Regions from separate parts of the Homo sapiens genome. Here region 2 is linked to region 1. Evidence: promoter capture Hi-C in human tissues and cell types (Jung and others, 2019). All regions are on one chromosome and are shown on one strand. The core of a region is centred on a gene start or on the middle of the fragment in contact, and the rest is flanking DNA. Distances in the headings are between cores, read along the strand shown. Region 1 holds the start of MEAF6 (MYST/Esa1 associated factor 6). Region 2 overlaps INPP5B (inositol polyphosphate-5-phosphatase B).

Region 1 (4,755 bases), core at 623-3,122:
AGAAAAAAGAAAAGTGGCCAGGCGTGGTGGCTCACACCTGTAATCCCAACACTTTGGGAGGCCAAGGCAGCAGATCACCTGAGGTCAGGAGTTCGAGACCAGCCAGGCCAACATGGAGAAACCTCGTCTCTACTAAAAATAAAAAAATTAGCCAGGCATGGTGGCACGCACCTGTAATCCCAGCTACTCAGGAGGAAAAAGAAAAAAAGAAAAGAAAAATACTGTGAGGGTAGAACTCATGACTGATTAAAATGTGTAAAAAATTTAATAGAATGCTATTGTATAAAGATACTGTATTTAAGCCTCACACAACCCTGTGCCATAGGCCCAACTTTCGCTATTTTACAGATGTGAGCCTTGTCTAAGATTATTCGGTGAGGCAGTGCCTGAGCCAGAGTCCAAGAGTTCAAGTCCAGATCACACCACTACTTTACTACTGCCTCCAGCAAAGTTGCCACTAAGAGCATACAGTCCTAAAAACAAACGTTACTAGGGCACAATAGGAACACTACAGGCTTTCGACACTCACTTTTGGTTGGTCAGATACCGATCCCAGCCACGAATAATATTGCCATACATCTGAGTGTCTTCCAGGTAGCTTCCCTCAAAAGCATAGATCTGTCGCTCCAAATTTGCCAATGTTTCCTGAGAGATGAAAAACAAGGACATGAATGATACCTTTTAAATGCAAACACTTAAGTCTGGCCAAAATGAAATCCTGATATTAGACTCGTAAACGCAAGCTTGCCCACACTAAACCACCCTGTGGAGAGATGGAAGATACGGGGAGGAGGAGCCGTTTAGGACTAAGACAGTCTAGACCTTTGGGGGTGATGGACCCCTGAATGTATAAAGCATGTCTCCAGAAAAATACACACACACGCGAAATTTTGCATATACTTTAGAGGATTCACGGAAACCATGAGTCAAGAGCCCAGGCTAACGCAGAACTTGGGCGATGTCCACTCCCACGCACAAAAGGTATCGCTACCAGGAGAGGGAAAGGTGAGCAGCCTTTCAGCGTCAACTCGCTCCCCTCCCCGCAGGCTCAAGAGAGGCCGCCGACACCGGGCTGCCAGTTGCTATGGAAACCTAGAAGGGCAGCTTCAGGTGAGAGGGGCCTCCCGGGTGCCCAAGCCGAGACGCGGGGGCAGGAAGAGCTTAGCCACCAGAGTGCATTGGGCCTTGGGTGCCTGTCACAATTCTGAATTCTCCGGAATGTGTTCTTCTCCCTCGCCTGTCACCTTCTAGATGTTCCCAAACACATCACAACCCTGTCTATCAAAAACCTCCATTCAACGGATCTACTCCCAGTACCAAAAAGAACACGCTCCCCACCAGCCTCCAAAGTCCAGACGGGGTGACTGGGTCCCCCTCCCACACTAGCCTCCTTCCCCACCCCCTCCCCGCAAAGATCACGGACTAGCCCGCCTCGCCCACCCCCGCGGCTCACTGACGCTCGCCCTTCCTAGCGCCCTCTCCCCGGGCCCCGGCACCGTCCTCCCTCCACGCCCCCTCCTGCGGCTGCCGCTTCCCCTCCCCCTCCCGCGCTCCCGGCTCTCTCCCGGCTCCGGATTCGCACAGCCGGGAAGCTGAACCGCCGGCGGGCCGCAGAATGCGCACCCGGCCTCAGGCCGCCGAGCACCCGGCCCGCCGCGCCGCGCCCCCGGAGTAACAAACGGCCTAGCGCGGCCGGGCTTGGGGCCTGGAGGCGGGGCGGGCGCGGAGCCCCATGCCGTGCAACCCCTGTCCTAGCCCCTCACCGCCAGCTCCTGCTTCCGCTTCACGAGCTCCGCCAGCTCCCGCCGGGTGTCCGGGATCTGCGGCGGCGCCGCCTTGTTGTGCATCGCCATGTTGGGCTGAGGCGGGCGGCGGCGGCGCGAGGTTGGGGGCGGTCCCTGCGCCGCCAGGGGGCGCCCCCCCGCTCTGCGCCTGCGCGCGCGGCTTCCGGAGACGCGTGCAGCGCCGTGCCGAGCTTCGCTAAGGCCGGGGCTCTCGAAGGTCCTTCTCGGAGAGCTCTAGAGATGCGGCTTCTGCTTTCTGCCGTTTCCTGCCCCTCGGCTGGCCGCCGGCTTTACAGACGCCACAAATCCACCGCGTCCAAAGCCTAGCTCGTCCTCAGGCCTCCGAGTCTCCTGTGCGCCCCGCTTCAGTCCACTTCAGTGAATGACTTTCACTATCCACCGAATTGCCTGCGTCAGAAACGCGGTTTTCCTCACTCTGCACCTGGAGTAAAACGCGATCCCAGGTCAAGCTCTATGGACTCGACTCCGGAAGAGCTCGCGAATCCATTTGCTTGTGCCTGCGCCTTCTGCCACCTCACTAGTTCATTCAGGCCCTCCCTGTTTGGGGCTACATTATTCCAGCGGCTTATTTCCACCTTTAGCCCCACTTAATCCACTATCCACAGTGGTGCCAGGATCTTCCAGAAACAAATGTTATCACTCCCCGGTTTAAAGTCTTTCAGTGGCTTCCCATTTTCCCAGTGCCCTTTGGAGAAACAAGTATGTGTAGTGGTTAAGGGCACAAAACTGGAGCGAGAACTACCTTGTTCAAAATCCTATCGCTACATCGATAAAGTGTGCTCCTTTGGGCAAATAACCAAATCTCAACTCCCTCATCTGTAAAATACAAGCAGTAATAGAATCTACCTAATACATTTGCTGTGAGGAGTAAATCACCTAATATGTGTAAGGGGTTTGGCAGGCGCCAATGACTGTGCAAGTACGAGTTCGCTTTTATCGTTAAGTCCAAGGTGTAAACGTTGTTTTCACTTGGCCCCTGTGGATTTCTCCGTCCTCAGCTCTCCATCTTTCACTGTTCTGCAGTTTCGCTATCATAAGTCTAAGTGGGATATTTTTTCTTCCTTTTGTTTTGTTTCTTGCTTGGAAGTCTTTGGATTTCTATAATATGTGGGTTGGTATCTTCCACCAGTTTTGGGAAATCGCAGTCATTTTTCTTCAGATGCCTGTCTCATTTCTCTCTCCTTCTGGAACTCGAACATAAGAAGCTTTTTAACCTACCGTCTATATTTTCCATCTTTTTGTCCCTCTGTGCTGCATTCTGAATAACTGGTTTCGTGTGCGGATCTTGTAACCTGCCATCTTGCTGAACTCCCTTACTAATTTTAGGGGGGGTTGTATAGATTCCTTGGAATTTTTACATAGATAATAATTTCATCTGCAAATAAATAGGGAGTTTTTTTTTTTCTAAGCTGAGTGCTTTTTCTTTTTCTTCCTTATTGTGCAGATTTCCAGTAGTCTGTTAAATAAAAGTGATAACATTAGACATCCTTGCCTTGTTCCCTGTTTTAAGGGGAATGCAGGCCGGGCGCGGTGGCTCACGCCTGTAATCCCAGCACTTTGGGAGGCCGAGGCGGGTGAATCACAAGGTCGGGAGATCAAGACCATCCTGGCTAACACAGTGAAACCTCGTCTTTATTAAAAAATACAAAAAAAATTAGCCGGGCGTGGTGGTGGGCGCCTGTAGTCGCAGCTACTCGGAAGGCTGAGGCAGGAGAATGGCGTGAACCCGGGAGGCGGAGCTTGCAGTGAGCCAAGATCCCGCCACTGCACTCCAGCCTGGGCAAGAGCGAGACTCCGTCTCAAAAAAAAAAAGGGGGGGTGGCGAATGCATTCAGTCTCTCACCATTAAGTATGACATTAGTTGTGGGAGTTTTGTAGATGCTGTTTTTCAAGGTGAGGAAGTACCTCTATATTCCTAGTGTAAACCAAAAAACAAACAAGTAAAAAAACTTTTAAGCCACTGGGTGCGGTGGCTAAATCCCACCACTTTGGGAGGCCGAGGCGGGCGGATCACGAGGTCAGGAGTTCAAGACCAGCCTGACCAACATGGTGAAACCCCATCTCTACTAAAAATACAAAAAATTAGCCAGGTGTGGTGGTGTGCGCCTATAATCCCGTCTACTCAGGAGGCTGAGGCAGGAGAATCGCTTGAACCGGGGAGGCAGAGGATACAGTGAGCCGAGATCGCCACTGCACTCCAGCCTGGGTGAGAGAGTGAGACTCTGTCTCAAAAACAAAACAAAACAAAACAAAAAGCTGGCTGGGCGAGGTGGCTCACGCCTATAATCCCAGCATTTTGGGAGGCCAAGACAGGTGGATCACCTGAGGTCAGGAGTTGGAGACCAGCCTGACTAACATGGTGAAACCCCGTCTCTACTAACAATATAAAAAATTAGCCGGGCGTGGTGACAGGCACCTGTAATCCCTGTACTCAGGAGGCTGAGGCATGAAAATAGCTTGAACCCGGGAAGTGGAGGTTGCAGTGAGCCGAGATTGCGCCATTGCACTCCAGCCTGGGCAACAAGAGTGAAACTCCATCTTAAAAAAAAAAAAGTTGGTGTGCTCCATCAATTCCCGGAGGCCCGACAAAGGTAGCCTGGGAATTCCAGATAAATGGAACAAATGATGACCTGCTAGAAACGCATGGGAAACAAAATAACTATTCACAGAACCACATAAAAGCCTTCCAATAGAAACTAAAAAAAAAAAAAATCATGGTTTTATATATATGAATACACACTTGATCTTAGCCAAAAGGCCAAGAAGCGATATATATATGCATACACAAGCAAGGCCCAGAGGAGAATAAACAGCAAACGAATGAAAATTAGAAACAAAAACAAATAAACAGGAAACCAACTCTAAATTTTTCCTACTCAATCTACCCTGGAGGCTACAGTGTTACCCAGAGCCCCCAAAACTCCACATAATATTTTATTCCTAATACACA
Region 2 (5,427 bases), core at 2,548-5,047, 370 kb after region 1:
AAAGTTCAAACTTTATAGTGGAGCCTGGATTTAACCAGCAGTATATCATTGGTTGGCTCTTTCTGTACTGCAGAGTGGAGTGTAGAAGGTGTTTGATTCCTTCTGCTGCTTTGGGAAAAAGCTAACTGAAGGCTCCCTGATGACACTGTACATCTCATTAAGTCTAATACTGCTGTATCTGAAGCCAACAACCATGTCATTAGAGAATCTGCACAGCAGTACACGCACACCAAAATTAATGCATCCACAAACTAAAAGCAGACAAACTGACACATAAGCTGCGACCTCACAAACTAGGATGCTGCAGGTTCACCAGAATGGAAGAGCTCGGCTGCAAGACACTCCCTGCTAGGCTCCCTGGAGAAGAAAAACCATCCTGTCAGCTTCCAGAACACCAAAATGCTCCAGATAGTTCCACCTCGGCAGGCAGGACAAGAGGCGTTAACTCTGTTTACTCCTTGGCAGATATCACGGCCCCAGTGGCTTCTTCCTCTTTATAAAAGAAGTGGCGTATGTTATCATAAAGTCTAAAATTCTAAGGCTTTGACTTTAGACAAAGAGGAAGTTGTAGAGATAAATGAGATAAAGTAAAGAGAAGAAACAAAAATGAGCACAAGATGCTCTCAGAAGCTGCAACTATATCTTTGTAAAGTTGAATTAAGAGGAAAAAAAGACCAAGTGGAGGCAAACAAATGTAGTCCAACTCTCAATTATACATGCTCTGGAAAGAACAGACAAATAAAATCCTAAAACATACTTCTAAAAACTGGGTTTGAGATGCTCATTCTTTGGTTGTTTTCTTCATAATGTTGGAGGTAGGCAGACCCAAATTAAAATAAATCTTTAAAAAAAAGAAATCTTAAGCAGAACTCAGACTACAATATAGCCGTCAACTGCTGTTTTGTCATATTCTCTGCTCAAAATAAACTTTTCCTTCTCCTTTCTCCTCTCCTTTCCTTTCTTTTTTCTTTTCTCCTCTCTTTGTCTTTCCCCTCCCCTTCCCTTTCTCTTATCTTCCTGCCTCAGATTCCTGAGTAGCTGGGATTACAGGCATGCAGAATCACACCCAGCTAATTTTTAAATTTTTTTCAGAGACAGGTTCTTACTATGTTGCCCAGGCTAGTCTTGAACTCCCGGGCTCAATCGATCCCCCCACCTCAGCCTCCTAAAATGCTGGGATAACAGGCATGAACTACTGCACCCAGCCTCACTTTCTTCTTATTTCTGGCTGCTATACTATAGCAGCCAGGGATTCTCACACATGTTGATAAAATTAAATACTGAAAAAACAAATGGCCGGGCGTGGTGGCTCATGCCTGTAATCCCAGCACTTTGGGAGGCCGAGGTGGGCGGATCACGAGGTCAGGAGTTTGAGACCAGCCTGGCCAACATGGTGAAACCCCACTCTCTACTCAAAATACAAAAATTATCCAGGCCTGGTGGCACGCACCTGTAGTCTCAGCTACTCGGGAGGCTGAGGCAGGAGAATCATTTGAACTGGGAGGTGGGGGTTGTGATGAGGCGAGATTGCGCCACTGCACTCCAGCCTGGGAGACAGAGCAAGACTCCGTCTCAAAAATAAATATATAAATAAATAAAACTTATACCTTCCCAAGGACACATGATGCTTGAGAAAGACTCTAGAGTGTGCTTGCTTTGGCAGCACATATACTAAAATTGAAATGATACAGAGAAGATTAGCATAGTCCCTGAGCAAGGATGACATGCAAATAAAAATTTAAAAATAAAATAAGAAGGCCGGGCACGGTGGCTCACGCCTGTAATCCCAGCACTCTGGGAGGCCGAGGTGGGCGGATCATGAGGTCAGGAGATTGAGACCATCCTGGCTAACACAGTGAAACCCCGTCTCCACTAAAAAATACAAAAAATTAGCCAGGCATGGTGGCAGGCGCCTGTAGTCCCAGCTACTCAGGAGGCTGAGGCAGGAGAACGGTATGAACCTGGGAGGCGGAGCCTGTAGTGAGCCTAGATCACGCCACTGTACTCCAGCCTAGGCGACAGAGCGCGACTCCATCTCGAAAAAAAAAAAAGTAAGAAAAGAGAAAGACTCAAGAGATCTGCCAGATAGCAAGTTAGGAAACTAAATATTTTCAAGAGATATAATCCATGTATAACCAAGAGGTGGGAGCTACCACCATTGCAGCAATAGGAAACCACCACCAGGCATCTCCCCATGAAAAGACAGAGCCCACAACTCTATGTACTCATGGTGAACCGCATGGGGTGGAAGCCCAGACTCACTCATGGTTGCTGATGGTGAGAGGGGGAAGGCTTGGGTCAGGCTGACAAAACTGCATTCGAGAACAAATGTCCTTATAGTCCTGGTTCCTCCTCTCATACTCTTCAATGTGGGCTGCCAAGTGAGAATTCACAACGCAGATGCTGGTGTTGTGGAACTGGAACCTGATCGCCACGCCTCCCTTGTTGCCCTATGGAAAGGATCCCCAAAGAAATCCAATTCAAACTTAATTGTGTCAGTCACTTAAACCTACAAACTTTCTGGCCGGGCACGGTGGCTCACGCCTGTAATCCCAGCACTTTGGGAGTCCGAGGCGGGTGGATCATGAGGTCAGGAGTTCAAGACCAGCCTGGCCAAGATGGTGAAACCCCGTCTCTACTAAAAATACAAAAATTAGCTGGGTGTGGTGGCAGGCGCCTGTCATCCCAGCTACTCGGGAGGCTGAGGCAGAGCACTGGTTGAACGCGGGAGGGAGAGGTTGCAGTGAGCTGAGATCACGCCACTGCACTCCAGCCTGGGAGACAGAGTGAGACTCCATCTCAAAAACAAACAAACAAAAAAAAAACCCTACAGACTTTCAAAATGTTTTGTCTTAATCTTTATAATAATCCTGTGGTATTATCTATATTGTACAGATTAAAAAAAAAAAGAAGGCAGAATGACTAGCCAGTCAATGGCAAAGCTGAATCCACAACCTAACTCTCTCGAACTCCTGGCCTCAAGTGATCCACCCACCTCAGCCTCCCAAAGTGCTGGGATTACAGGTGTGAGCCACCACACCCAGCCCCAAAACCTAGCTCCCTTAATCCAGTGTTCTTTTCACTAAATCACAGGCAAACCATAGGTACCCTTTGAAAACACAAAGCTAAGCTCTCACAGAAGAACCTAAAAACAGAACTTTAATGGCCTCAATAAGAAGAGGAAATTGCAAACCTACTGTCAGCATTCTTTGTTTTTCTGAATGACCCAGCATAGTTTCTGCAACATACTTCATGGGTGAAATGGGAGGATCAACTGGAGGCTCTAGTGTTGGGGAATATGAGGACAGGCGCTAATTGGTTAAATCAGCAGGTAGTTCACTAAAACAGTTTCTAAATAGTTTGCTCGACTGAGCCCTGCTTGAGGGTATGATTCATCTTGGAATATTGGCACCTTCAAACTGGGACACGTGTAGTCACTGTGTCATCAGAAGTGGTCAATACCTCAGGAGCTAAGGTCCTCAATGTGCCAAACAAACCAACCAAGGACTCACCATCCTCCCCATGATTCCTGTCCCCACAGTCTCGGCTTCCACTTCTGAGATATAAGCTGCATGCTCCTGTTTGACATATAACAGCAGCATAATCCCAACCAGTCGGATAAGCTTCACCTGGAAAAGAGAGACATGGCATTAAATAGAAATTGCAAACAGGAATAAATACCCCAAAGGAAACATAGTCTGGAAGCTGGCTGAGAGTATTCACGTGTCTCCTTCTCCACACTAGAACACAGGTAATCATCTGTTCAATTCACCAAGCATGCTATGTGCTAACCTACGAGTGGCGAGACCCTGCATCTTTCCCACCCGGAGGCACCCCTTCTGGAAGATCTGGAAATGAAAATTGCGGGATAATTAAGACTGGCTTAAGATAAAGGTCATGGAAAAGGTGAAAAATGATCTTGGAATTTCCCTGCATGGCAACATAAAATTAAGAGGTCCCTGACTCCTCTCTTACCTTTGCATATTTGGCATCTGGATGAAGACCCTCTGACACAGCTTTGAACCACTCTTCCTCCTTTGGGGTATCGTGAAAGAAAAAAGCTTCCTTACTCAGATCAAGCTCCTGGAACCTATTTTGAGAAGCAACCAGTTAGATAGTAAAGAAAAGTAATGTGCAAATGACACATTCTCAGATTGGTTTAGGTGCATAAGCCCTAGCTTTCTAGCTAAACTTCAGGACCCTCAGGAGGAAAAAATAAACATTTAGAGCCAAGGAACTAAATGCCAAGGAACTTTGCAGGTGCTGTTGCAAACAAAAACCCATTTTCTTTTCATGACCAGCCTATGAAGTAGTTCGAAGTGTCCCTATTTTACATCTGTAACCCCTAGTTCACACAAGCACCAAGTGGCAAACTGGGATTCAAACCTTGGTCTACATAAATTATGAATTCTAGTTCTTTTCAATATACCATACAAGCTTTGCTGCCCCTCCCCACTAGTAATGCCCAGTATAGAGATGAGAAGATTAAAAAAAAAAAAGACTAACTGATGGGACTTTCTTCAGCTAACCTTTCTTCTCTGGCAGAAGATAGTTTTGCTTTGTAACCAAAAATGTATTGAATGTCCAAGCAATAAAGTTCAGTTCAGGATGCACTGAGTTCAGGATGCAATTCAGGATTTTAACAGAAGATTACACTAAAAATTAAATACTAGCACTTAAATGCCAAGCACCCCACTTTAATAGTGGCAGACATTTGCTTGCCATGAGGAAGAACATCAAACAGGGAAACAGCTGTTATCAGGCATCTGTTCATTTTTCAAATCCTTCACCTGTTGTGAAGACCCATCCTTCAACCACAGCTCTGTGTGCTTGAAGATGGAGAGGGGACTAGAAGAGAAGCACTCACCCTACACAATAGACATCTGGGGCCTGGATACCATTGCTCAGCCACAGCCGGAGGCATTCTTTGGGGGACTGCCCATTTACATTGTATGTTCCCGCAAAAAACCTGTCACCAAAGAGAAATAATTAGTGACTCCGAATCACTATGGAGATAACAGGAGAAAGCATTTTATGCTGATTTATGCTGGTTTCCGTCTCTGTGGACTGGCATTTTGAGACATAAGAAATGTCATTTCTAACCTAGACCAGGACTGCAGCACCAAGGAGTGACTTGCGGTCTGTCATGGTATCTGTTACTTTTGTGATAACAACTTCAAATAGTATAGGCCTACTCCGAACATTCCCACTTCCTTTAAACAGCCATTACCCAGGCATTATCTGCATAATTATTTGCCTTGTATATACTACTGAAATGAAAAAATGAAAAGTGCTTTGGTAATTACTTTTGGCAAGAAAGCAACACCAGTATTCAAAAGGCTATTTCTTCACCATAATTCACAGTTTGTATCCCTAGAAACAATGTTATTTTATCTTATAGTCCCAATGCAACGATTTTGAAAGATC

What was found. Contacts are between HindIII fragments. The study calls those that stand out against the background at their distance.
Region 2: a contact is called between a fragment that was not itself captured here and the fragment with the promoter of MEAF6 in region 1, in 1 of the 25 tissues and cell types used here (aorta).

Annotation. Positions count from the first base shown.
Region 1 is chr1:37,512,894-37,517,648 of GRCh38, forward strand. It overlaps MEAF6 (MYST/Esa1 associated factor 6), which reads right to left and starts at 1,873. Exons shown (of 7, transcript NM_001270875.3): 1 at 1,764-1,873; 2 at 530-645. The coding sequence starts at 1,853. RefSeq lists a silencer at 1,458-2,057. The HindIII fragment of the contact is 13,544 bases long and covers 1-4,755 here.
Region 2 is chr1:37,883,376-37,888,802 of GRCh38, forward strand. INPP5B (inositol polyphosphate-5-phosphatase B) reads right to left here. Exons shown (of 24, transcript NM_005540.3): 10 at 4,868-4,969; 11 at 3,976-4,090; 12 at 3,513-3,629; 13 at 2,263-2,450. It also overlaps the pseudogene RNU6-584P. Among named protein-coding and RNA genes, the nearest start is that of MTF1, 26 kb to the left of the region's middle. The HindIII fragment of the contact is 4,836 bases long and covers 1,380-5,427 here.